Linked DNA regions of Homo sapiens: all the other regions are linked to region 4. The links are contacts of gene promoters, found by promoter capture Hi-C in blood cells and fetal thymus (Javierre and others, 2016). All regions are on one chromosome and are shown on one strand. The core of a region is centred on a gene start or on the middle of the fragment in contact, and the rest is flanking DNA. Distances in the headings are between cores, read along the strand shown. Region 1 overlaps ZBED4 (zinc finger BED-type containing 4). Region 2 overlaps ZBED4 (zinc finger BED-type containing 4). Region 3 holds the start of ZBED4 (zinc finger BED-type containing 4). Region 4 holds the start of MLC1 (modulator of VRAC current 1).

Evidence for each region. The method cuts DNA at HindIII sites, captures the fragments that hold promoters and counts their contacts. A CHiCAGO score of 5 or more calls a contact.
Region 1: a contact is called between a fragment that was not itself captured here and the fragment with the promoter of MLC1 in region 4, in 7 of 17 cell types (naive B cells, total B cells, endothelial precursors and 4 more). The highest score is 7.9, in naive B cells.
Region 2: a contact is called between a fragment that was not itself captured here and the fragment with the promoter of MLC1 in region 4, in 2 of 17 cell types (erythroblasts and total B cells). The highest score is 5.8, in erythroblasts.
Region 3: a fragment that was not itself captured here is called in contact with the fragment with the promoter of MLC1 in region 4 in 3 of 17 cell types (erythroblasts, megakaryocytes and total B cells); the score reaches 9.7 in erythroblasts.

The regions. Positions count from the first base shown.
Region 1 is chr22:49,887,138-49,893,352 of GRCh38, reverse strand. ZBED4 (zinc finger BED-type containing 4) reads right to left here. Exons shown (of 2, transcript NM_014838.3): 2 at 3,273-6,215. The coding sequence ends at 6,175. It also overlaps a transcript of ALG12 not described here. Among named protein-coding and RNA genes, the nearest start is that of ALG12, 28 kb to the left of the region's middle. RefSeq lists an enhancer at 4,569-5,070. The HindIII fragment of the contact is 1,394 bases long and covers 3,870-5,263 here.
Region 2 is chr22:49,866,547-49,872,684 of GRCh38, reverse strand. All of the region lies in intron 1 of ZBED4 (zinc finger BED-type containing 4), which reads right to left. It also overlaps a transcript of ALG12 not described here. Among named protein-coding and RNA genes, the nearest start is that of ZBED4, 16 kb to the right of the region's middle. The HindIII fragment of the contact is 711 bases long and covers 1,287-1,997 here.
Region 3 is chr22:49,852,634-49,859,059 of GRCh38, reverse strand. It overlaps ZBED4 (zinc finger BED-type containing 4), which reads right to left and starts at 5,216. Exons shown (of 2, transcript NM_014838.3): 1 at 5,071-5,216. LOC124905147 (a long non-coding RNA gene) reads left to right here and starts at 1,404. Exons shown (of 2, transcript XR_007068156.1): 1 at 1,404-1,566; 2 at 3,774-4,558. LOC105377205 (a long non-coding RNA gene) reads left to right here and starts at 5,548. Exons shown (of 5, transcript NR_188597.1): 1 at 5,548-6,426. RefSeq lists enhancers at 1-120, 1,723-2,383 and silencers at 4,569-4,858, 5,029-5,758, 5,779-5,868. The HindIII fragment of the contact is 470 bases long and covers 3,815-4,284 here.
Region 4 is chr22:50,084,114-50,089,623 of GRCh38, reverse strand. MLC1 (modulator of VRAC current 1) reads left to right here and starts at 4,198. Exons shown (of 12, transcript NM_015166.4): 1 at 4,198-4,269; 2 at 4,663-4,898. The coding sequence starts at 4,722. RefSeq lists an enhancer at 3,926-4,550. The HindIII fragment of the contact is 3,674 bases long and covers 3,495-5,510 here.

The DNA.
Region 1 (6,215 bases), core at 3,317-5,816, 200 kb after region 4:
GCAGGTTGTTATTTTCAATTTATCCTCATTGGGGTTCAAAGATATTGACACCTATGGCTGATGTCCCAACAGTTCTGGAAAGTCCTCAGCTGTGATCTCATCCAAATGGCGCTCCACCCCTTCTCTCTCCTCTTCTGGGACTCCCGTCAGCTGTGTGCTAGTCTTTTCTCTTGCGCTGTGTCTCTCAGGCACTTTTCATCTCTCTGTACTTCAAGATGAATGTTTTCTACTGGCTTGTCTTCCAATTCAGTAATCCTTTCATCTATAAGCCTAATTTGGTACTAACTACATCTAGGGAATTCTTCATTCATCGTTGTGTTTTTCAGCATTAGCACGTTTACAGATTCTCTCTGGTGGCATTCTCCACCTTCTCATCCATATTATTGAATGTATAAATCATAAAGTCCGTGTCTGAAAACTCCAGTATTTGGATCACCTGTGAGACTATTTCTATTGTCTTATGATTCTCTTTTCAGTCACTTAGTCCTTTTTTTCAGTGTGTCTCATAATTTTTTTATGAGAGTCAAACTGTTTATCTGTAAAGTTATAGGAGCTCTGATGTTTTCATTGAAAGAAAATTTAGTTTTCCTCTAGCAGAAAGGTGAGGCAGATCGCCCTGATGCAATCAAGGCTGAGATGGCTCAAGCCATGTCCAGACTTGGTGAGGGTTGGTCCCTCTCCAGTTTGCCCTTCAGGGGACTCACCTGGAAACCTCAGAGTTTTCTCAATGGCAGGCACTGAAGTCCCAAGTTTTGTCTCCCTTGCCCAAAGATGTCTCAGCTTTCCAGCCTTTTGCTGCTATATTTGGGTTTCCAAGCCTCTTGCCTCAAGCACAAGCAGCAACCAGGAATAGGCACCTGCTGCAGGGGAAGCTGCACACTGGGAATTCGGCCACTTCTCTGAGGCTCCTGGCATCCTGGCCAACATGACAGCTTGTGTGTTGCTGCCGGTCTCCCAGCCCAGTGACACCACGCCAGCTCTGGTTGCCACCTTCTGTCAGGCCTTAGGGCAGGACACCAGCAAATGGCCCAACAGGAAAAAATGTTGTGAACACAGGACTCACCTTTATGCAAGTCTCATCTTACTAGGATTTTGTTTCTTCAAATCCTGGCTGTCTTACTCTCTGATGTCTTCAAAAAGTTTTTTTTTTTTTTTTTTTTTTTTTGAGACAGAGTCTTGCTCTGTCGCCCAGGCTGGAGTGCAGTGGCACGATCTCGGCTTACTGCAACCTCTGCCTCCCAGGTTCACGCCATTCTCCTGCCTCAGCCTCCAGAGTAGCTGGGACTACAGACGCCCACCACCACACCCAGCTAATTTTTTGTATTTTTAGTAGAGACGGGGTTTCACTGTTTTAGCCAGGATGCAAAAAGCTCTTTTTAAAAATATATTTTATATGGCCTTGATAGTTCTTGGGAAAGGTTTGGTCTGATAGCAGTTGCTGCCTCATAGTCAGAAGTGGAAGAGAAGGGAATTTTAGCTTTAAATGAAGTTCAATGTTTTATTATTGCAGGAGTGGTCTTCAAAAAGTTCATGGAAAATGCATATTATGACAAAACTATGCATGCATTTCAAAATTCTTTTGCTCCAAAATAAACTCATACTAACTTGTTAGAACATGCCTGAATAGATCTAGTTTGAGGCAGTAAGAATCAGTTTGAAAAGGGCTCCTAGCAGAACATGAATTCTGCAAAAACTGAAGCAAAAACAAGCATCAAATCTATAGTGAACCTTGGGTGGAAGAATGGTGAAAATCATGATGCTTTACAAAAAGTGTATGAGGACAGTGCCCTAAAGAAGTCAGCAGTATACACATAGATACCTCGTTTTAAGAAGGATCAAGACAACATTGGAGATGAAGACCACAGTGGCAGACCATCCACATCAATTTGCAAGGAAAATATTGATCTTGTTCATGCTCTGATTAAAGAGGACTGACGATTAACAGAACAATAGCCAAGACCACAGACATCTCAACTGGTTCAAAATTGAAGTTGAGCAAGCTTTCCACTCGATGGGTGCCAAAACCGTTGTGCCCAGATCAGCTGCAGACAAGAGCAGAGCTTTCAATGGAAATTTTAAACAAGTGGCATCAAGACCCTGAAGCATTTCCTTGAATTATAACAGGAGATGGAACAGGACTTTACCAGTACCATCCTGAAGACAAACCACAATCAAAGCAATGGCTACCAAGAGGTAGAAGTGGCCTAGTCAAGGCAAATGTGGACAAGTCAAAGTAAGGTCATGGCAACAGTTTCTTGGGATGCTCAATGCATTTTGCTTGTTGACTTTCTGGAGGGCCAAAGAACATTTTTTTTTTTTTTTTGAGATGGAGTCTCGCTCTGTCGCCCAGGCTGGAGTGCAGTGGCACAATCTCAGCTAGCTGCAAGCTCTGCCTCCCAGGTTCACGCCATTCTCCTGCCTCAGCCTTCCGAGTAGCTGGAGTAGCTGGGACTAGAGGTGCCTGCCACCACGCCCAGCTAATTTTTTGTATTTTTAGTGGAGACGGGACGGGGTTTCACCATGTTAGCCAGGATGGTCTCGATTTCCTGACCTCGTGATCTGCCCACCTCAGCCTCCCAAAGTGCTGGGATTACAGGCGTGAGCCACCGCATCTGGCCACAATAACATCTTATTATGAGAGTGTTTTGAGAAAGTTAGCCGAAGCTTTAGCAAAAACACACCCAGGAAAGCCTCATCAGTGTCTTTCTCCACGATGACAATGCTCCTGGCTCATTCTTCTCATCAAATAAGGGCAATTCTTCAAGAGTTTTGTTGGGAAATCATTAGGCATCCACCTTACAGTCCCGATTTTGCTCCTTCTGACTTTGTTTCCTCATTTTAAAAAATCTTTAAAAGCACTCATTTTTTCTTCCGTTAATAATGTTAAAAAGGCTGCACTGACATGGTTAAATTCCCAGAGCCTGCAATTCTTTAGAGGTGGACTAAATGGCTGGTGTCACAGCTTACAAAAGTATCTTGATCTTGATGGAGCTTACATTGAGAAATAAAAATGTTGTTTTGTTGTTGTCATTGTTGGTGGTTTTAAGAGAGAGGATCTTGCTCTGTTGTCCAGGCTAGAGTGCAGTGGTGTGATCACAGCTCACTGCAACCTCAAACTCCTGGGCTCAAGTAATCCTCCTCCCTCTGCCTCCCAAGTAGCTGGGACTACAGGCATGCACTACCAAACCTGGCTAATTTCTTGAACTCCTGGCCTCAAGCAGTCCTCCCACCTCAGCCTCCCAAAGTACTGGGATTACAAACATAAGCCACTGTGCCCAGCCAAGAAATAAAGTTTTTATTTTTTTATCATCTTTTACTTCAGTATTTCCACAAATTTTTTAAAGTCCCTTCGTATAATGACTGGTAATTTCATTCACTGAAGAGACAGTTCTGAGGCTCATACAAAGAGCTTTTTATTATCTGAGACAGACCTGAGAAATTAAGGAACCTGCCTAAAACATCATTTCCAGGCAGGGAAACAAACAGCTCGCAGCTGGGGTTCTGAACGGAGAGGCAAGGTGGGAATGGCTAAGAATCAACATATTTTCTAGTTGCACCCACAGTCCCCTCATTCAAGTAGTGAGAGTCGTGTGACTGTCAGCACTGGGCCTCTTGTCCATCTTCCTGCAGGACTGTCAGCAACTGGAGGGCAGAGACGGTTTGACCATTGAGTGCCGGTTTCAACAAATGTCCACCAACGAAATGAAGGGAATGTATGAGATAAAATGACTCTCCTAGTGTCATTCAGGAAGGGCCATATTTTCTGTTGAGTAAAGCAAGCCCTCATTTTTTTCTGCAATCCCCTTTTATACACTGACTGTTACTCAGAACACTTCAACTAAAAATACAGCAGCATGAAGCTGAAAGCTTAAAAAAACAAACAAAAAAAACCCCATAAAGGCAGGCTAGCTCAAGGGCCAGCAAACTTGCTATTCTGGAAAGGGCCAAACAGTGAGTATTTTCAGCCCTGTTTGTCCCTTTCAGTGGGCCTGTGGTCTCTGTCACAACTATTCAGTTCTCCCGTCGCAGCCTGAAAGTAGCCAAGACACCATGTTAAAAAAACAGCTGTGACTGTATTCCAAGAAAATTTCACTTAGAAAAATGGGCAGAGTGCCGGACTGGGTCTGTGGTTGCAGCTTGCCAATCGTGGACTAGACTATATGCTCTGTGAGACTAGAGACTGTGTCCACGGAAATCTCTGTTGCATTCCAGGAACTAGCCCAGGCCCTGGAAAAGGGAGGGCACTTCATCTCAGTTGAATGAATGAGTGGATACAATTCTGCTACAGTTAGTTGTGCTGGCTTGTTTTGGAGAGAAAATCCATGAAGCTCAATATCCCAAAATTCTAAGGATATTACCATTCCAAATACAATCTTAAGAAACACAGGACTGCAAGCTGGTCGTGAGCACAGCTAAGCAAGAACTGTGGCTCCCTCCTATCCTGTGCGCAACCCTTTCTACACCAGGATGACACTGGCCAGGGCTGCTGGCGAGGGAGAGATGGGTGGGCCATGGACCCCACCTCCTCTGCAGCCTCACGGGCACTGTCCCTGACCAGCACTCCTGGGCACTCTGGAAGCAGGCTGTTCTCACGGGAACAAGCGCACAGCTACCGGGTAAGAGGACACCAGGAAGAGCGTGCACAGAGGCTGCGGCCAAGGCAACCCCTCAGGGCTGCCCACCGGCTCCTGCATTCTGGCACCACTTGAACACGAGACCTGGAAAGTCATCACCATGGCCATGATCAGAACTGTTGTTGTAAGAATTACATCTCCACTTCCCTGGAGCCCTGTCTGGGGTTAAGGTGAAATTTCAAATGCTGCCCAAGTATGGGCTCTAGATAATGGACCACAAAGAATATGCCTGTTTTCTTATCCTAAAAATAAAAAGCCAGTGTCTGCCAGCACTAGAAAATTGCAAATAAGAAGTTTAATTTCAGAAACTGAGTTCACCATTTATAAATACACTAAAACATAGTCAATGCAAATTTAGATTAAGCGTACGTACAGTATTTCAACAAAACAACTTTTCTAAAAGGTCGTAGGCAAATGAGTGATTAGTCTCACTCAGAATATTTAATTGGTTTAAAATGAGAAAATGAATCTTTTTTTCTCTGAAGACATAACTTTTAAAATCATCTGACAACTGACACTTCACTCTGATGTCCTTGGGATTTGAAAATATCCCAGTGATGGCCGCATCTTCCCTATCATAAAAAAATCTAAACACTAAGGCTATTCTTACAACTGGAATATAACAAGCTTCTTCCCTGTTAATAAGCCATCTCTTCTAAAAAAATTTTACACAAATTTGATCAAACAAGGGGGTCAGTGCACACATTTTGAAAGACAGCTTCAGAGCGTGGAGATGCTGAAGCGGAGGCGTGGGGGTTTCAGCAGGGACCACCTGCCATCAGCGTGTCATTGAACGCACTGGCGAAGTGATGAGCACAGTTACAAAGGGATCACATTTCAGAGGAGCTGATGATAAACAGCTGGGGTATCTCTGAGTTAACTGACCATGTAAAGCCTGAATGCAGAAACCTGAAATGGGAAAGTTCTCAAAATAAGCTCCATGAAACATCTAAGTTTCGTTTCCAAATGCCACGTCTCTGTCGTAGTAAACAGTTACCTTCCAGAATATTATCTGTACTCCGCGGGACACTTTAGAACCTGCGGTTAAAAACTGCTCAGTCAGGATGGCTTGCCCTCCACCTCCTATTTACAGATTTCATTTGATAGCCACAAAAGCTATTCTGTTGCAATTAAAGCAATGCTTCACTAAAATACAGTACCTGATTTGTGGTTTGTACATAATTGAGTAAAAAGCCTACAGAATAAAATGGTTTACATCTTCTTTGTCATTCTAGTAAAACAAATTACTAACCCAAAACTTTAAAAAACTTTACGGTTATGAATTAAAATCTAGTCACCATATTTCATAGTTGACAGGACAAGCTATTTCTAGTGGACGTCTTAATAAAACACCCCGCGAAACTTGGCCTGAAGGAGAAGGGGTAAGGCACGTGGAGACACTGTGGTGAGCTGGAGAGCGGCCCTGAGAGTGCCTGGTCTGATGTCGTACACAGCCGTGGGCAGAGCGGGTCATAGACCTGGTACAGGCTGCTAACGCTGGGGCAGCCACGCCTCTGGCCTAGTGGTGCCGTCGTGAGTTTCAATACTGAAAGTATATTAAGGGAAGATTCACTTTCAAAA
Region 2 (6,138 bases), core at 393-2,892, 210 kb after region 4:
GGTGGCATACACCTGCAGTCCCAGCTACCTGGCAGGCTGAGACGGGAGGTTCGCTTGAGACCAAGAGGTTGAGACTGCAGTGAGCTGTGATCGTGACACTGCACTTTAGCCTTGGTGACAGAGCAAGACCATATCTCTAAAAACAACAAAAACAAAACCATGTGTGATTCCTGGGACGGGAAAATACCAACATTACCAGGAGAATGGGTTGAAGGAAGTTAATTCTAACCCTCATGGATGACTCTGAGGGGCTCAGACTTCAATGGAGGAAGTGACTGCAGATTTGGTGGAAAGGGCAAAAACTAGAATTATACACAGAACCCAAAGATACGGCGGAATTGCTGTACTCTTAGGATAAAACTTGAGTGAATGAGGAGCTGCTGCTTAGGGATGAGCAAAGAAACTAGTTTGTTGAGATGGAATCTACTCCTGGTGGAGATGCTATGAACACTGTTAAAATGACAATAAAGATTTTGGAATATTCTATAAGCATAATTGATAAAACAACAGCAGGGTTTGAGAGGATTGACTACAATTTTGAAAGAAGTTCTACTGTGGGTAAAATGTACACTATGGAGAACTCTTTCATAGAAGAGTTAATCGATGTAGCAAACTTCATTGTCTTATTTTAAGAAATTGTCAGCCGGGTGCAGTGGCTCACGCCTGTAATCCCAGCACTTTGGTAGGCCGAGGCAGGCGGATCACGAGGTGAAGAGTTCGAGACCAGCCTGGCCAACATGGTGAAACCTCGTCTCTACTAAAAATACAAAAATTAGCTGGGCATGTTGGTGTGCACCTGTAATCCCAGCTACTGAGGCAGGAGAATCGCTTCAACCCAGGAGGTGGAGGTTGTAGTGAGCTGAGATCACACCACTGCACTCCACCCTGGGCGACAGAGTAAGACTCTGTCTCAAAAAAAAAAAAAAATAAATAAATAAATAAATTGTCACAGCCACCCCACCCTTCAGCAATCTGCACTCTGATTGGTCAGCAATCTGCACTCTGATTGGTCAGCAGCCCTGGACACCAAGGCAACATCTCCTCCCAGCTGAGATTATGAGTTGCTGAAGGCTCAGATGACTGTTGGCATTTTCAGCAACAAGCTTTTTAAAAATCAAGGTAGGTACATTGTTTTAGACGTCATGCTATTGCACGCTTACCAGACTACATTATACTGAAAATGTAACTTTTTTTTTATTTTTGAGACAGAGTCTCACTCTGTCGCCCAGGCTGGAGTGCAGTGGCAATATCGGCTCACTGTAAGCTTCGCCTCCCAAGTTCAAGCTTTCTCCTGCCTCAGCCTCCTGAGTAGCTGAGATTACAGGTGCGTGCCACCACACCCAGCTAATTTTGTATTTTTAGTAGTGACGGGGTTTCACCACATTGGCCAGGCTGGTCTCGAACTCCTGACCTCGTGATCCACCTGCCTTGGCCTCCCAAAGTGCTGATGAATTAACTTTTAAAAGAGAATTCTAAGCCAGGCACAGTGACTCACGCCTGTAGTCCTAGCACTTTGGGAGGCTTGAGACCAGCCTGGCCAACAGGGTGAAACCCCATCTCTACTAAAAAAAAATATATTAGCCAGGCATTGTGGTGCACACCTGTAATCCCAGCTGCTTGAGAGGCTGAGGCATGAGAATTGCTTGAACCCTGGAGATGGAGGTTGCAGTTAGCCAAGATTGCACCACTGCACTCCAGCCTGGGTAACAGAGTGAGACTCCATCTCAAAAAAAAAAAAAAATCTATCTTTTAAAAATACTTACTGAAATGTAGCTACGTGAATTATGATTTTGGGTATTTGCTTCAAAATAATTGAGTGGATTGTAACAGAAACAAAAATTGACAACTGGGACCTAACTAAAGAGCCTCTGCATAGCTGAAACTATCACAGAAAAGGAGACCATCGACAGAATAAACAGAAAACCCACTGAATAAGAGAAAATATCTGCAAACTATGCATCTGACAAAGGTCTGAAATCCAGAATCTATAAGAAGCTTAACAAGAAATAAAATAACCCCATTAAAAAGCAAGCAAAGGACATGAACAGATACTTCTCGAAAGGAGACATAAAAGTGGCCAACAGACGTGAAAAAATGCTCGACATCAACAGTCATCAGAGAAGTGCAAATCAAAACCACAACGAGATACCATCTCACACCCGTCACAATGGCTTTTATTAAAAAAAGAAAAAAATAACAGATGCTGGAGAGGCTACAGAGAAAAGGGAAACTCAAGCACTGCTGGCAGGGATGTCAATGAGTTCAGCCACTGCGGAGAGCAGTGTGGAGTCTTCTCAAAGAACTAAAAACAGAGCTACCATTGGACCCAGTGATGCCACTACCAGGTATGTACCCAAAGAAATAAATCATTCTACAAAAAAACCCCATGTACACATGTATGTTCATCACAGCACTATTTACAATAGCAAAGACATGGAATCAACCTACGTGCCTAGCAATGGTGGACTGGATAAGGAAAATGTGGTATATCCACACCATGGAATATTATACAGCCATAAAAAAGAACAAAATCATGTCCCTTGCAGCAACATGCATGCATCTGGAGACCATCATCCTAAGTGAACAAACACAGGAACAGAAAACCGGATACCACATGTTCTCACCTATCAGTGGGAGCTAAGCATGTGGTACACAGGGACATAAAGATGAGAACCACAGGCACTGGGACTGCGAGAGTGAGGAGTGAGGGAGGGAGGAAGGGAGGAGGGGACAAGACTGAAAAACAACCTATTGAGTACCATGCTCACGATCTGGGCGACGATCATTCTTATCCCAAACTCAGCATCACGCAATATACCATGTCGTGAACCTGCACATGTGCCTGATGAATCTAAAATCAAAGTTGAAATTCTTTTTAAAAACAAAACTTTTTAAAAAGTGAGTGGAGGACACAGATGAAATGGGAATGGCTGTGAACTGGTAATTCTGAAGCTGGGGATGCGTGCACAGGGTTTATTATGCTACCCTTTCCACTTTTACGTATATCAGATTATTTCCATGAAAGCTATTTTAAGAAAAAAACCAATGAGATACACTGCTGACTTTTTAAGAGAAACAATGTAAATCAGGAGACAGAGGAATGACATCTTCAAAGCTGTGAAAAATGAGAGCCAAACCAGAATTCAGTAAGCAGTACAAATATTCCCTGAGGAATAAACAGGAACTAAAAAACACCATCAGACAAACCAAACACAGAACGTGTCTCTAAGTGACCCACACTAAAGTCCACGCAAGAGTGTTCTCCAGTCAGAGATGAAATAATCTGGTCTGGAGGACGAGCGCTGCCAAAAAGGCCCGAGGTGGATAACCACCACGCGGGTACGAGGTAGGCAGCCGTGCACTCACTGTTACGGGTGCCTCTGCCTTTAGGCCCTTCCAGCGGAAGCACTAGAACCCATAAACACACACACCAACATGCATGTGTGTACGTGAATCAAAGCCACAACTTCACACTGACACCGCCAACTCTGCCCTGACCCTGAGATCACAAGACCGAGCATCCCCCTTTCCACAACCGTGATTTTTCTTTTTTTTTTTTTTTTGAGACAGTTTTGCTCTTGTTGCCCAGGCTGAAGTGCAATGGCATGATCTCGACTCACCCAACCTCCGCCTCCTGGGTTCAAGTGATTCTCCTGCCTCAGTCTCACAAGCAGCTCGGATTACAGGCATACACCATCACACCCAGCTAATTTTTTTTTTTTTTTTTGTATTTTTAGTAGAGACAGAGTTTCTCCATGTTGGTCAGGCTGGTCTCAAACTCCCAATCTCAGGTGATCCGCCTGCCTTGGCCTCCCAAAGTGCTGGGATTACAGGTGTGAGCCATTGCGCCCGGCCTGCATCCGTGACGTTTCAATCCACCTCTGGGAGGCTGGGCTCCCACCCTCCTGGCAGATTTCCTCATTTGCTCAACCCTACAACACATGCACGAAGTAGCTGCAGAATTACTAACCCAGGCCACCAAGAAAACAAGCCTTCTAGCTGGAGATCACAATTCATTTATAATTTTTATCTTTTTACTTGGAGGTTTATAATCACATCGTGTCCAAGAGTTTCTTGGGTCAGTTTTCATTTTTCTTTTTTGTTGGAAGAGACAGTCTCGCTCTGTTGCCCAGGCTAGAGTGCAGTGGCACAATCTTGGCTCACTGCAACCTCCGCCTCATGAGCTCAAGTAATCCTCCCACCTCAGCCTCCTCAGTAGCTGGGATGACAGGTGTGTGCCACCACCCAGTTAATTTTTTGCATTTTTTGTGGAGATGGGGTTTCACCATGTTGCCCAGGCTGGTGTCGAACTCCTGATCCTGGGTGATCCACCAGCCTCAGCCAGCTTCCTTCCTCAAGTGTAGTTATTTTATTCATTTGAAATATAGTAAGCTCATTTGTTTGCTTGTAACACTGCCTATATTTTATTTTTTAGTTTCCCCAAATCTCTCAATAAAAGGAAAACTAGAACAGTAAAACCACAATCCTCTGATGTTATCAACAACAACAAAAAAGAAGACTGACAAGGTCTTTCCGTTAACCAACAAATGTAAGTGGAAGGGACAAACCATGAATATGGGTAAGTGGGTCCCTGATTTAATGACGGTTCAACCTACGAACCTGCAACTTTACGATGGTGTGAAAGCCACTGGCATTCAGTACAAACTGTACTTTGAATTCTGAATGTTGATCTTTTCCTAGGCTAACAACATACGGTGTGACACTCTTACATGAGATATTCAACACTTTATGACAAAACAGGCTTTGTGTCAGGTGATTCTGCCCAACTGTGGGCTCATGTAAGTGTCTGAGCACATTTGAGGGGGGCTGGACTAAGCTATGATGCTCGGCACATCAGGTGAATTAAATGCATTTTCCACTGAAGATATTTTTAATTGATGATGGATGGGTGTATCAGGATGGAAGCCCCCTTGCAGTCAGTATTACAAGGCCTAGATGGTATTAGATCTGGCAGCTGGAAAAGAAAGATGTCATCAAGCGTGTGATACACCGAGCATCCCCAAGTAGCCAACAGGTATCACTGGACGGCCCACAGAACCAAGCTGCTGAGGTGGGTGACTTTCTGCACATCTGCAAAGCAGAGGAGGGTCAGGGTCCAAGGTCCGATCTGGGGCAAAACAAAACAGCTGACACTTCTTTCTGGGGCAAAAACTCCCATGAAGAGAAGCTGCTGGGCCTACCAGGCCACCCAGAACTAGACAGAAAGTCAGCGAGAACAGAGAAGACTTGAGCAATACCGTCAGCCAACTGACCCAGTGGATGCACCGCAGTGCCTCCCCAACCGCCGCTCCCACCGCCGCCTGGCACACGCTTCTTCAGGGGCCCAGGGAACCTCCCACAGTATAGACCACATGCTGGCCCATAACATACGCGTTGGGCATTTCAAAAGGACTGAAACTATACAAGTCCTCTAAACACAATGGAGTTAAATTATAAAGCAAAAGAAAGAAATCTGGGAAATAAGCAATTATTTGAAAACAAAATACAATTCTAAATAACTCACGGGTGAAAAACAAACCGTGAGGTAAACTGGAAAGTGTTTTCAACTGAACGACAATAAAAATACAACCCACCAAATGGATGAGATGCAGCTGAAGTGGTGGTTAGCAAGAAACTGAAAGCTCTACATACCTGTGTTAGAAAAGATGACCTCCAGTCAATAAAGTACTCACCTAAAAGAAAACACTAGAAAAAACAGCAAACCAAACCAATGCAAGCCAAGGAAGGCAGGTGACCTCCTGAAGGCGCAAGAGGTAAGAACGTGCATTTGCCGAGAGCCACCGTTCAAGAGCCGCCAGCATCTTGATTTAGCCCAGTGAGACCCATCTCAGATTTCAGATTCCTAATTTCCGTTTGTGTGAAGCCACTCGGTTTGTGGTAATTTGTTAAAGCAGCACTAGAAAACTAATATAATAGGCAACAGAAAAGAATTCTGTCACATCTCACAGAAGGGTATGAGAAAAACTAAAGAGCAGAAAAACATCACTGCAGATAACGAAATATGCTCACAGAAAAATGTGACCTCAGATTAAATGAAAACGGTAACTTCCTCTTGCAAAGAAACTAAAGAAATTAAGAAAATGATATAAAGAAACAACATAAATCAGGATAGAAAAA
Region 3 (6,426 bases), core at 2,800-5,299, 230 kb after region 4:
GACACCCCCTCATCTAACTCGCCAACTGTGGGGGGCAGGGACACAATTTAAAGGGCCAGTGAGCAAAGTCGCATCCGTCCTCATGGGACAGCCTCCGCCCACAGTGCAGCACACAGCATCACCTGCGCCCCAAACGTGCCCCTGTATCAAATCAGGCCTCCCACCGCCAGATCACAGGGGGTGCTCCGGGGGCACCGGAACGCAAAGAGACCTCACAGCCACTGTGACACGTGGCCCTGTACTCGATTCTGGTTGGGAAAAACAGCTAGTAAAGACGTTGGGGGACAACTTCAGACCGTGGACTGGCTACTGGATGACGCCAAGGGACACAGTCACGTTTTGTAGACGCCATCGATGACGCGACTGTCATTAGACAGTAGAATGTCCCTTTCCCTTTCTTAGGAGAAAGAACACTTAGAGAAGTGTCCAGATATCTGCAGTTTCCTTCAAGACAGTTCAGCACGTGCCAGGTGGCAGCTGGTGGCAGTCACGGTAGCTCCAGCTGGGGGCAAGGGACGTAGGAGTGCCAACTCTGTAAGTTAGAAACTTTATAATAACCTTCAAACAACAGAAATATATTCGTGTTCAACTCAGAGCACACGCACTCTCAACAAGCTGTCGAGTATACCCAGGGAGGCAAAGAGCTATGCATCAAGACTCCGGGCCTGGTTCAGACGGGGACATGGCAGTTTCTCCTCCTGAGGACATAAACTACCATCGGGGCTACACCTGAGTAGCCTTCACCTATTCTGGGGGTGCACAGCAGCATCAACTGCCACAAATTCCAGCAGGAGCCATGGCTCACAACAGCTGCCCACACAGAAGCCAACATCCAGGTCTGGGCTAAACTGAGAAGGGGGCCGGGCACGGTGGCTCACGCCTGTAATCCCAGCCCTTTGGGAGGCAAAGGCGGGTGGATCACCTAAGGTCAGGAGTTTGAGACCAGCCTGGCCAACATGGTGACAGCCCATCTCTACTAAAAATACAAAAACTGGCTGGGCGCGGTGGCTCACGCCTGTAGTCCTGTCCTGGCACTTTGGGAGGCCAAGGTGGACGGATCACGAGATCAGGAGATCGAGACCACCCTGGCCAACATGGTGAAACCCCGTCTCTACTAAAAATGCAAAAAAAAATTAACCGGGCACGGTGGCGCACGCCTATTGTAATCCCAGCTACTCAGGAGACTGAGGAAGGAGAATCGCTTTAACCTGGGAGGTAGAGGTTGCAGGGAGCTGAGATTGTGCCATTGCACTCCAGCCTGGGTGACAGAGCAAGATTCCATCTCAAAAAACAAACAAAAATTAGCTGAGTGCGGTGGCGGGTGCCTGTAATTCCAGCTACTCAGGGAGCTAAGGCAGCAGAATCACTTGAATCCAGGAGACAGAGGTTGCAGTGAGCCGAGATTGTAACACTGCACTCCAGCCTGAGTGACAGAGTGAGAATAAACAAACAAACAAACAAACTGAGAAGGGGAACCCAAAGCTAAAGGTCAAAGACAGTGGCAAGGGGTCTGACTCCAGAAACCCGGAGTCAGAGCTGCTCTGTCAGACGTGCTCAGGAACCCAGGTAAGGGCGTCTTGGAAACGGCACCTTCCAGAGCAAGCCAGCGACCACGCTAAGGTCAGCTGGTCCGTGTTCCATCCCTGAAATGTTCTGGGTCACACGACAGGGTCATGTGGATTGTTCTGCTAGGTGGTTTTGTGGGTCCCCTGTATTTAACACCAGCACCCTCGCCGTGTACCCATACCTTGGGGGTCCGGGCAGTCCCACTAGTGACAGGCCTGACATCGCAGCTATGGCTGAACGCTGCTGGGGAGTCTCTCACTTACAGGATGTGGAGCATGGCTTCTATGACGGAGCAACCAGAGCTCTCCGAAATGCACATGCTCCCGACCCTGCTCCCTGCAGCAAACAGGTGGAGCAGAGACCACCAGGTGGGCCTCGATGAGGAGCAGCTTTGGAGGAAGTCAGCCCCTCAGGGTTTGTCTGTGGAGGTGGCAAGGCAGGAAGGGCGGGGGGCCAGGTCCTCCCGACCCTAATCAGGTAGGGGGCTGCAGCAGTCACAACCCCATCCCCAGGGCCAGGCCAGCATCAGCTGTTTCTATTGCACACAGAGTTTGCTGGGAAAGACATGGGCCATGGCTGCTGAAAAGCCTTCACCTAGAATGAGGTGGGAAGCTGGCTGGCATTGCAGCGCGGCCTTCACCTAGAACGAGGGGTGGGAAGCCGGCCGGGATTCCAGCGCGGCCTTCACCTAGAACGAGGGGTGGGAAGCCGGCCGGGATTCCAGCGCGGCCTTCACCTAGAACGAGAGGTGGGAAGCCGGCCGGGATTCCAGCGCGGCCTTCACCTAGAACGAGGGATGGGAAGCCGGCCGGGATTCCAGCGCGGCCTTCACCTAGAACGAGGGATGGGAAGCCGGCCGGGATTCCAGTGTGGGTCATTTAGGCTGCATGTCCCCTGAATTCCGAAACAACCCGGGGGAGCTGGGAGGCGGCTTCAGCAGCAGGCGCTTGGGCCGGGCAGGAGGTACGCACTGGGATGCCGTGAGGCTGCCTCTGCACCTCATGGACAATGCTCTCCTGGGGCTTCCGCCATCGCCCCCAGACCCTTCAGGGCAACCTCCTCTCCCTATGAGGTCTCCGGAGCATGCTTTCCTGAGAAACTGGGATTACCCCTGCTCTCACCTGCCGGTGTTTCTCCTTGAAGCACTTACTGAGCCTTTTTCTCTGGTTTACGCTGCTCCTCACCACCACCATGTTCCCTACGGCCAGGGCCTTCTTTGAAAACCACCATGGCCCCAGCAGGCAGAGAGGCAAGCACCTCTGTCTCTCCTGCTCCCCTCCGCCTCAGAAATGGCAAAGAGCTTATTTTATTCCTAACAATGCCTCCCAGAATTTGAACTACAAAAGCACATATCCAGTGATGACCAAGGAAGGGATCTGAGGTACTGCAGAATGTAGAAAAACCTAGGTGCTAAAAAGTGGGGAGCAGAAGGGCCTGGAAGGCTGGGATGCAGAGAGGCCCGAATCCTTGAAAGGGCTGAAGCCAGAGAGCTGCTGGAATCCACAGACACTAAAAGAGAAAGCCAAAACCAAACCGCTAAGGGGTGTCACGGGCTAAAGGCACAGTGACTTTCTTACACAGCCAAATGTAAATAAGAGCAATTCCTATAGGTACATTCTCAGGTCCTGAGATTTAAACAGTGAAGGAAACAACGTTGGTAAGGAAGGGCCAGCTTGGCCTCTACCCCAGGGCTGGGCAAAGCCACGCCCAGCTGTTTCACCTGCTCCCTCCTCTCAAAAGACAACCACCACACCAAAGAGAATGAGACCAGAAGCTAAAGCCAGGCAAAGAAAAAAACGCAAAACAAAGTGAAGGACGGCACTGACCACGGTCACTTCCTGCTCCTCATGCCGCCAGGAGTCCACTCCCCAGGGCTCCTCACCAAGGATCTGAGACACACACACACACACACCTTTCGCTAAAGAAGCTGCTTCTCAGCTCCTCTGCACACACACAGAAGTCAGTCCGCTCCCCTAGTAATTTTTTTAGTCTTTCTGCAAGGTGTTATGGACATACTTTGCACAGCTGAGTTACTCACTGTGTGTGTGGAGGGGGTTGGGGAGGAGGTAACCTTAAAGAGCAGAGGTTTTACATCCAACAACATCAACCACCTTATTCAGGAATTACCTGGACAAGAGTGTGTGTTGGGGGAGACCCTGTAACCACCTGTCAAGTGGACTAAAAGTCTTAGGTTTCTTTCCATATAGATTAACTGTGTCCTCACCTCAAAGACCGGGCCTCTGAAGCTTTTTCAAGATTCACAGAATCTCTCTTAACTTGTGCTAGATCTTTTCTTGAAAAAAAGCCAATCATGACAAGCAGATATAATCCGTTTAAGGACTACGGGAAGTGTGCAGCCTTGTACGGACGTCCCATTGGAAACCCTCGGAGTATGGAATCAAACTCCTGTAAACTTTCCTCTTGCAAAGTAACTTTGTTTAGTAATTGCAATTAATTCATAATCAAAATGTGGCTTATTCATAGCACTTAAAAAAAAATCCCAACCAAATCCTTCCTAGCCTCAATTTTGTCACTATGAATGACATACACAGAAAAAATAAAAAACATTTCTGTGTAAAAAGTCGCAGGATGCCCTTGCTTTACCAAACTGGCCTCACTATGAGGTCTGAATGGATTTCTAAAAACGTAATCTGATCAGAGTTAACTTCAAAATAAATAACTTCCCTTTCGACCAACACGAGAACACCAACAGAAGCTTCTGACGGCTCAGCTTGGCCGGGACGTGTTTCCACAGAGGTGCCCGGGTCTACCAGGGCCACCCGGAATAGAAAGGCGCAGAAGGGAGCCCGAGGGGCTGCGATTCTCTTAGCAACGAAGGCGGTGTGGGCCACACAACGGGACAAAAGAAGAAACAAAACTGACTGCGAGCTCATTTGGGTGTAGGAAAACCACTGCAGTCGAAAAACATTTGAAATTATGGTTCGCAAGGCAAGTTACATTTTTATTCATTAAATGTGAACGGTCATCCCCAGAACCACGTACAATAACCTGCCTCGGGGCGCGTCGCAAGGACCCGTCTGGGCTGAGACATGAAGCAGGGCCCAGGTGGCCCTTCCTGGAGGTGGGACGGGAATGACACGTCCAGAGAAGTCCCAGGGACGGGGCTCGCGGGGTTAACTCGACGTGGCCGGGACAGCGCGCTCCCGGCGGACCCGGGCGGCGCCCCGAGCCCGAGCCCCGTCCCGTCCGCCCGGAAGCAACGGCGCGGGCACGTGGGCCAGGCCGGGCGCCGACCCCCGGCACTCGGCCGCTCAGTCGGCGCCGCCCCCGCGCCAGCTGTCAGGGCCGGGGTCCGCGCGGGGGCGGGTCCGGGGCGGCGCCGGGCGGGGACCCCGAGGCCACGGAACCGCGCCCCCGCCCGCCTGGCCCCGGCCCTGGCCCCGGCGCGGCGCAGACAATGGCGCGGCCCGGCCCGGCCCCGGCGCGGTCCGCGGGGGACGGGGCTCGCGGCAGGCGGCGGGGCGGCGGCGCCCGCGCACTCACCTCGGCCCGGCCTCTGGGGCGGCTCCCGGCCGGCTGCGGACGACGGCGGCGCGGGCGGACGCTCCATTCATTACCGCGGCTTTGTCTGCCCCCGCGCCCCTCCCGCGGCCCCGCCGCCCGCCGCCCGCGACGCCGCCGGACGCTGCGCCCCTCCCAGGGCCCCGCGCGGCGCGGGGCGGGGCTGGCCGGGGGCGGGGCCGATCGGGGGCGGGGCCTACTCTCGCAGGCGCAGTGTCCGCGTACCCGCCCCGCCTCGTCCCTGGCCGGGCGGGAGGACGGAGCGCCGGAGGCCCGGCCGCTGGGGCGGGGTCGGGCGGAAGACGCAGGCGCAATGCGCGCTTCGGCTCCGCCCCCGGGTCCAGGAGGGCAAACTACGCAGGCGCAGTGGGCGCTCCGGCGCTGGCGGGCGACGGGAAGGGCTTAGGCGCTCTGGCTGGGCGGGGCGCGGGCGCCTTGGTTTCGTCCCGTGGCTTGGCAGTTGGCAGCGGCTCGGCGCGCACCCAACGGCCCACCGCGGGTTTCCGGGACGGCTAGCAGCGCGGTTCCCGGTCCCGCCCCGAACCCCCTTACCTGGCGCAGAGGCCGCTCAGTGCGGTGCGGTCAGGCCTCGTGGGCTGGGACCTAAGCCGTTGACCCTAAGGCGATCGGGGCTCCCCGCGCGGCCCCCCCGGGGGACGGGATTAACGCCTAAGCCCCAAGCCGGGTCGGCGGGAGGAGGGCGGCCCTCTGGGCGAGCGCGGGGCCGGGGCTGGCGGTGCGGAGCGCACGGGACTCGCCCGCTTCTCAGGGTCTGAAGGAAATGTGCACTTTTAATGTGTTATTTCCTAACACAAATGTTTGAGCAGACCAAATAAACTCTGCATGCTGAATGTGGCCCCGAGGTCCCCCGTTGGTGACACGGCTTTCGGCATTTTCTCGGCCTGAGTGTGAGAGTGAGAGGAGCCCGCGTGGCGGTCACCGGCTGGAGCGGGAGCGTGGAGTTATCACGGCCGCCTCTGCCCGGAGCCCGCCCCTGCCCCGCGGCTGTGCCCCTTCACCCGCACGCCGACTGTTCCAAAGTCCACGTCCAGCCTGCAGCCGGGTTTTCTATGGTGCCTGAGCTAAGAATGCTTTTCTCGTTTTTAAGAGGTTGGGGGAGAATTAAAACAGTATTTTAGCATATATGAAAAGTATATGACATTCAAATATCGGCCGGGCACGGTGGCTCACGCCTGTAATCCCTGCACTTTGGGAGGCCGAGGCGGGTGGATCACCTGAGATCAGGAGTTCGAGACCAGCCTGGCCAACATGGAGAAACCCCGTCTCTACTGAAAAAAAATAAAAAATTAGCCAGACGTGGTGGTGGGCTCCTGTAAT
Region 4 (5,510 bases), core at 2,949-5,448:
TTTTCTGCATGTATTCAAATGATCCTGTAGCTTTTTATTTCAGCCCATAGGGAATTACATTGTTTGGCTCTCCTTGGAAAACTCACTTGGTCACGATTCGTTATCCTTTTGGTGTATTGCCTGACTCAGCTTGGTAACGCTTTGTCCAAGGTTGGGGACGGTGCTGGTGAAGCAGATTGCTCTGTGGCCGACCTCCCGTTTTCTGTGTCTGTCTGGTTTGGGGTCGGTTTAAGCCGGGCCTGCAGTGACCTGGGAGTAGGATGGGGTAACTTATTCCCTAAAAATTGTGGTAGTATTCGCTGGGGAACCCATTTGGGCTTCGAGATTTCTTTGTGGGAAGGTTTTTAATGAGAAATTCACTTCTGCATCAGCTAGAGGGCTATTCAAGTTATCAAGGTAATATTGAATAAACTTTGGTAATTCTTTTAAGGAATTTGTCCATTTCATCCAATTATTAGATGTCAGATTATTGGCATAAAGTTGTTCAGCATATTTCCTTATTATCCTTTTAACGTCTGTATGGTCCATAATGATGAGCCATCTTTCATTCTTGACATAGGTAATTTATCTCATCCCTCTCATTTTCCTTGATCAGTCTATATTTATCAATTTTATTGAGTTTTTAAAAAAAATCATCCCTTGATTTCATTGATTTTTCTCTATTTTAAAAATATCTTTACACTTTGCGAGGCCAAGGTGAGCAGATCACTTGAGGTCAGGAGTTCGAGACCAGCCTGGTCAACCTGCCAAAATCCTGTCTCTACAAAAAAATACAAAAAAAATTAGCCAGGCATGGTGGCGCATGCCTGTAATCCCAACTACTTGGGAGGCTGAAGCAGAAGAATCACTTGAACCCAGGAGGTGGAGGTTGCAGTGAGCTGAGATCACACCACTACACTCCAGCCTGGGAGACAGAGCAAGACTCTGCCTCAAAACAAAAACAAAAACAAAATACGTATATATATCTTTACTATTCCAGTGGTTTCTGTTTTTTATTATTTCTTTTTTTTTTTTTTTGAGATGGAGTCCTGCTCCGTCGCCCAGGCTGGAATGCAGTGGCATGATCTTAGCTCACTGTAGCCTCCACCTCCCGGGTTCAAGTGATTCTCCTGCCTCAGCCTCCAGAGCAGCTGGGATTACAGGCGTGCGCCACCACGCTGGCTTTTTTTTTTTTTTTTTTTTTTTTTTTTTTTTGTATTTTTAGTAGCGACAAGGTTTTACCATGTTGGTCAGGCTGGTCTCGAACTTCTGACCCGCAGGTGATCCACCCGCCTTGGCCTCCCGAGTGCTGGGATTACAGGTGTGAGCCACTGCGCCCAGCCCCGACTTATTTTTGATTGACATAGCTTTATTTTCCTAGGTCAGATCTGTCAGTCTGATGACAGCCTGGACCTTGCCTGTCCATGGATGCAGAGTGTACTGATAGTTCTTGCTGTGGGAAGGGAGAGAGTGGCGCACTCCCTAGCATTTCAAATCCCCGCTAAGCCTGTGTCTTGGGCTGGGTGCTGGAACACATACAGGAGCCAGCAGGGTCCCAGGGACCTACTGGTTGGTGGGAGATTAGCTTGGAAACAAGAGCGAGCTGCATGAGGGCTGGTGGCTCATGGGCTCCCTGCCAGGGCAGCTCGCAGCGGGTGCTGTGCCTGCAGGGCTGCCCCTCAGCTCCCCAGCTCGGGCCACTCCCTGGGATTCTGGACTCAGTAGACCCGGCAGATGCCCACAGACATCTCGGCCTCATCATGTCCAGAATGGAACTCCAGATCCTCGCTCCACACCTGCTCCACCCTGGTCTTCTCATCTCTGTCCTCACTGCTCAGACAGAACTCAGCAACGTCGCCCTGACAGCAGATTGCGTCCGCTCTTCAAACCCTGTTCAGAGCCCAGTCCCTCCTCACCACTTGCCCACTGCCACCTCAATGCCAGGCAGCACCTGCTCCTCCCACCCCCCAGCCTGCTCTCCACCCAGTGAGTGACCGGATGCTGCTCTGCCCAGACCCCTCCAGCAGGTCTGTCTCAGAGTTGAAGCAGAGTCGTCTCCATACCCACAGGTGCTGGCACCTGGCTGTCCTACCTGTATCCCCCTTGCATGGTCCTCGCCTGCCTTCCCCAACCTGTGGCCTTTGCTTCAACTCTGCCAGCCTCCCCTCCCTGCCTCCTTCTCACTGAGGCCTGCCCTGGCCCCTGCAAACAGCAGCCCCTCATTTCTCTCCCCTGACTTCTTTTCCCTCATAGAGGAAATCATGTGTGTCACTGGATGCATTAGTCTGTTCTCACGCTGCTATAAGGACATACCCAAGACTGGGTAATTTTAGAGTCAAGTCCTTATAAAGGAAAGAGCTTTAATTGACTCACAGTTCCACAGGGCTGAGGAGGCCTCAGGAAACTTACAATCATGGTGGAAGGGGAAGCAAACATGTCCTTCTTCACAAGGTGGCAGGAAGGAGAAGTCTTGAGCAAAAGCGGGGAAAGCCCCTTATAAAAGACCATCAGATCTCATAAGACCTCACTCATTGTCAGGAGAACAGCAGCATGGGGGTAACCACCCCCATGATTCAATTACCTCCCACCGGGCCCCTTCCACGACATGTAGGAATTATGGGAATTACAATTCAAGATGAGATTTGAGTGGGGACACAGCCAAACCATATCACTGTATAACACACTAATTTGTTTATCCTGTGCACTCCTGTGCCCCCAATGAATGTAAACAGCCTATAGGAAGGACGTCACTTCTTTGTCCACCCCATAAATGTTTGTTGAATGTTGAATGATGATGGGACATCAGCAGGCAGAGGGATGAAGGGCATTTTAGGAGCAAGAATTTGTTGGAAGATTGTATGAAAGAACAGGGCCTGTTCTAGAAACTAGTGTTGCCAACAGAAACTTGGGAGCATTTCTCAAGTGATGACTTATGATCTGGGAAGCTGAGGGATTTGCTCTGCAACCTCTGGTTCAGGGCAGCTTGTTTGTATTTCTAAGTGGAGAGCAACTTTTGAAAGAAAAAAATGTTGAAATCCGATTAACATTTTTTTCCAAACAAAAAGAAACACAGGAGGATTCGATCCAGTTGGACCCACTCCCACTAATCCCGTTTATCGCTTTAAAAGATAGTGAAGTTTGGGAGGTTTCTCAATCCATTAAAATGAGTTCTTGACTTCACAGATTATAGTTTTTGAAAATTATTTCTCATCCTTGCTTGATTGAAATGAAGACAACAGAACATTGGCTGTGGTGGCTGGCACAAAATTAACTAACCCTAAAATACTAGTATAGCTTAAACTTTCGTTTATTGCTAAAAATTTATCACTGCTGTTTCCTGTGGGGGTGAGGTTGAGCAAAGTGTTTTGAGCTGCATTTATGCGTACTTGACACTTACGCATTTTGATCGAGGTGATTTAGTGGGCATTTTCACTGGGACAGGGATGCTTGTATGTGTAATCTTACTAAAAGCTAATAAAAACTTACTAAAAGCTAATAAAAGCTTACTAAAAGCTTCTTGCTTGATTGAAACGAAGACAACAGAACATCCCATGGTCTGGAACCTGATGACTTTGCTCAAGTTTTAATGTGGGTTCATGGTTTAAGGAGCTGGTTTTTCAGAAACTTTAGTTTGAGCCTTTTTACAATGTGCACAAAGAACCCGTTGCTGTAGTTGTCAGGGTGCCAGTGTCTCTGGGCGACACACATTACTGTGGTTTTTCTCTGCTTGGTGAGCAGAGATAAAGGGGGCAGCAGGACCGGGCCCACCAGCCATCCGGGCTGCCCACGCAAACCACAGGGCCGAATCCGGAGCCGCCCAAGGCCACACAGCTAAGCCGAGTGCGTGAATGCTTATGTGACCGTGTGAAGGAGGTTCCCACCGTGTGGCTGTGGGGGATGGAAAAAGGCTACTTGGAAAGATGTAGAAGACCTTCGAGTAAACAGTTACGTTTCAGAAACAGAGCCTGCTCAGAATGTGTACTTGGTGGGATTCTATTCTTAGGGACGCTTCTTTCTTCTGAGAGACCCGAGCTCTGTGGCGAGTGGCACAGGCAGGGCCCCTTCCTTTCCTAGTTGGGTTCTGACAGCTCCGAGGCAGTGGTTTACACAACCAACACGAAACATTTCTACGATCCACCCGATTCCTCCCCTCATTGATATTCAGGAAGCAGCTCTCCTTCCCCTGCCTTCAGCTCAAGTTTGCTGAGCTTTTGTTTCATTTGTGAATACTTCTTGCTGGAAGTCCCTCACCCAGAGACCAGTGCTCCCAACGGCAGAGCAGCGGGGGAGGTAAGTGCTCAGACATTAAGCCGTTGAGTAGAGGCATGTTTTGCAATCTCTCGTTTAGCTACCAATTGGAGCAGTTTAACGTGCTTGAGTCCCCGGCGTGATGTGTTCATGGACGAAGTTGCCGATGGATGTTGTCAGGTGTTGCACCTGGAGGGCCCAGATGGATCAATGAGGCATTTAAAGTGTAGAATCTCACCCTGAACCCAGACTATTCAGGTCCGTTTTTCTAGGAAAGTTATTTCTTTTTCACTTTTAGATTCAAGTGCTCATTTTCTTCTTCAAATTTAGAGCACTTCAGTATGAACAATATTTCTTTTGTTAAAAAATATTTCTTGGAAACAACTTATTGAAGTTTCCTCAGAGTGGCCAAAGCCGATGATAATTTTATTCCAGATAAAGAACTGGTGACACGTGGCTGTACATTCAGCACAGCTGTGGTGTCCCCAAGTGCCATGACCCAGGAGCCATTCAGAGAGGAGCTGGCCTATGACCGGATGCCCACGCTGGAGCGGGGCCGGCAAGACCCCGCCAGCTATGCCCCAGACGCGAAGCCGAGCGACCTGCAGCTGTCGAAGAGACTGCCCCCCTGCTTCAGCCACAAGACGTGGGTCTTCTCTGTGCTGATGGGGGTGAGTAGCTCCACACTAAGCCCTTGGAGGGCCACGAGCATCTGGTCCCTCTGGTGACGGACTGCAGCGCCCTGGAGCCCCAGGTGGGACAGAGAGAGCAACTCTCAGACTAACCCTGCTGCTGCAGAACTCTTGGATGCCGACGAGCTTGTTTTGCTTGTGTTTTCACAATTATTTTTATTAATTTATGGGTGTCTGTTGTGCCAGCCTTGAGCTGCTCCAGGTTGTGGCTTAGTCCCACCAGGGTAGGGACAGTCCCAGGGCCATGAATGGGCCCCAGGAGTCTCCATGACCCTCGGCTCTGGGGGCCCAGGGTCCTCTGAGGGGTCACCTGCAAAGGTGGGAGGAGGCGTCTCAGGCCTTCAGGTCGGCCCTCACAGAGAGAACCTCAGGGACCTCCTCCTCCTAGGGAGGGCCTCAGGGGCCGGCTGGGAGGGAGCTGGGGAACAAAGGAACAGGTCTGGGGTGGACGGGCAGCGCCAGATGTCCGAGGGATTTCCCTGGGGTCCTGGCCATTCCCTGCACAGTCGTGGGCACAGAGATGATTGGAGGAGCCACTTGGGCCTGAGTGTGTGCAGCTGCTCAGAGCCATGCTGCAGGACAGGCCTCTAT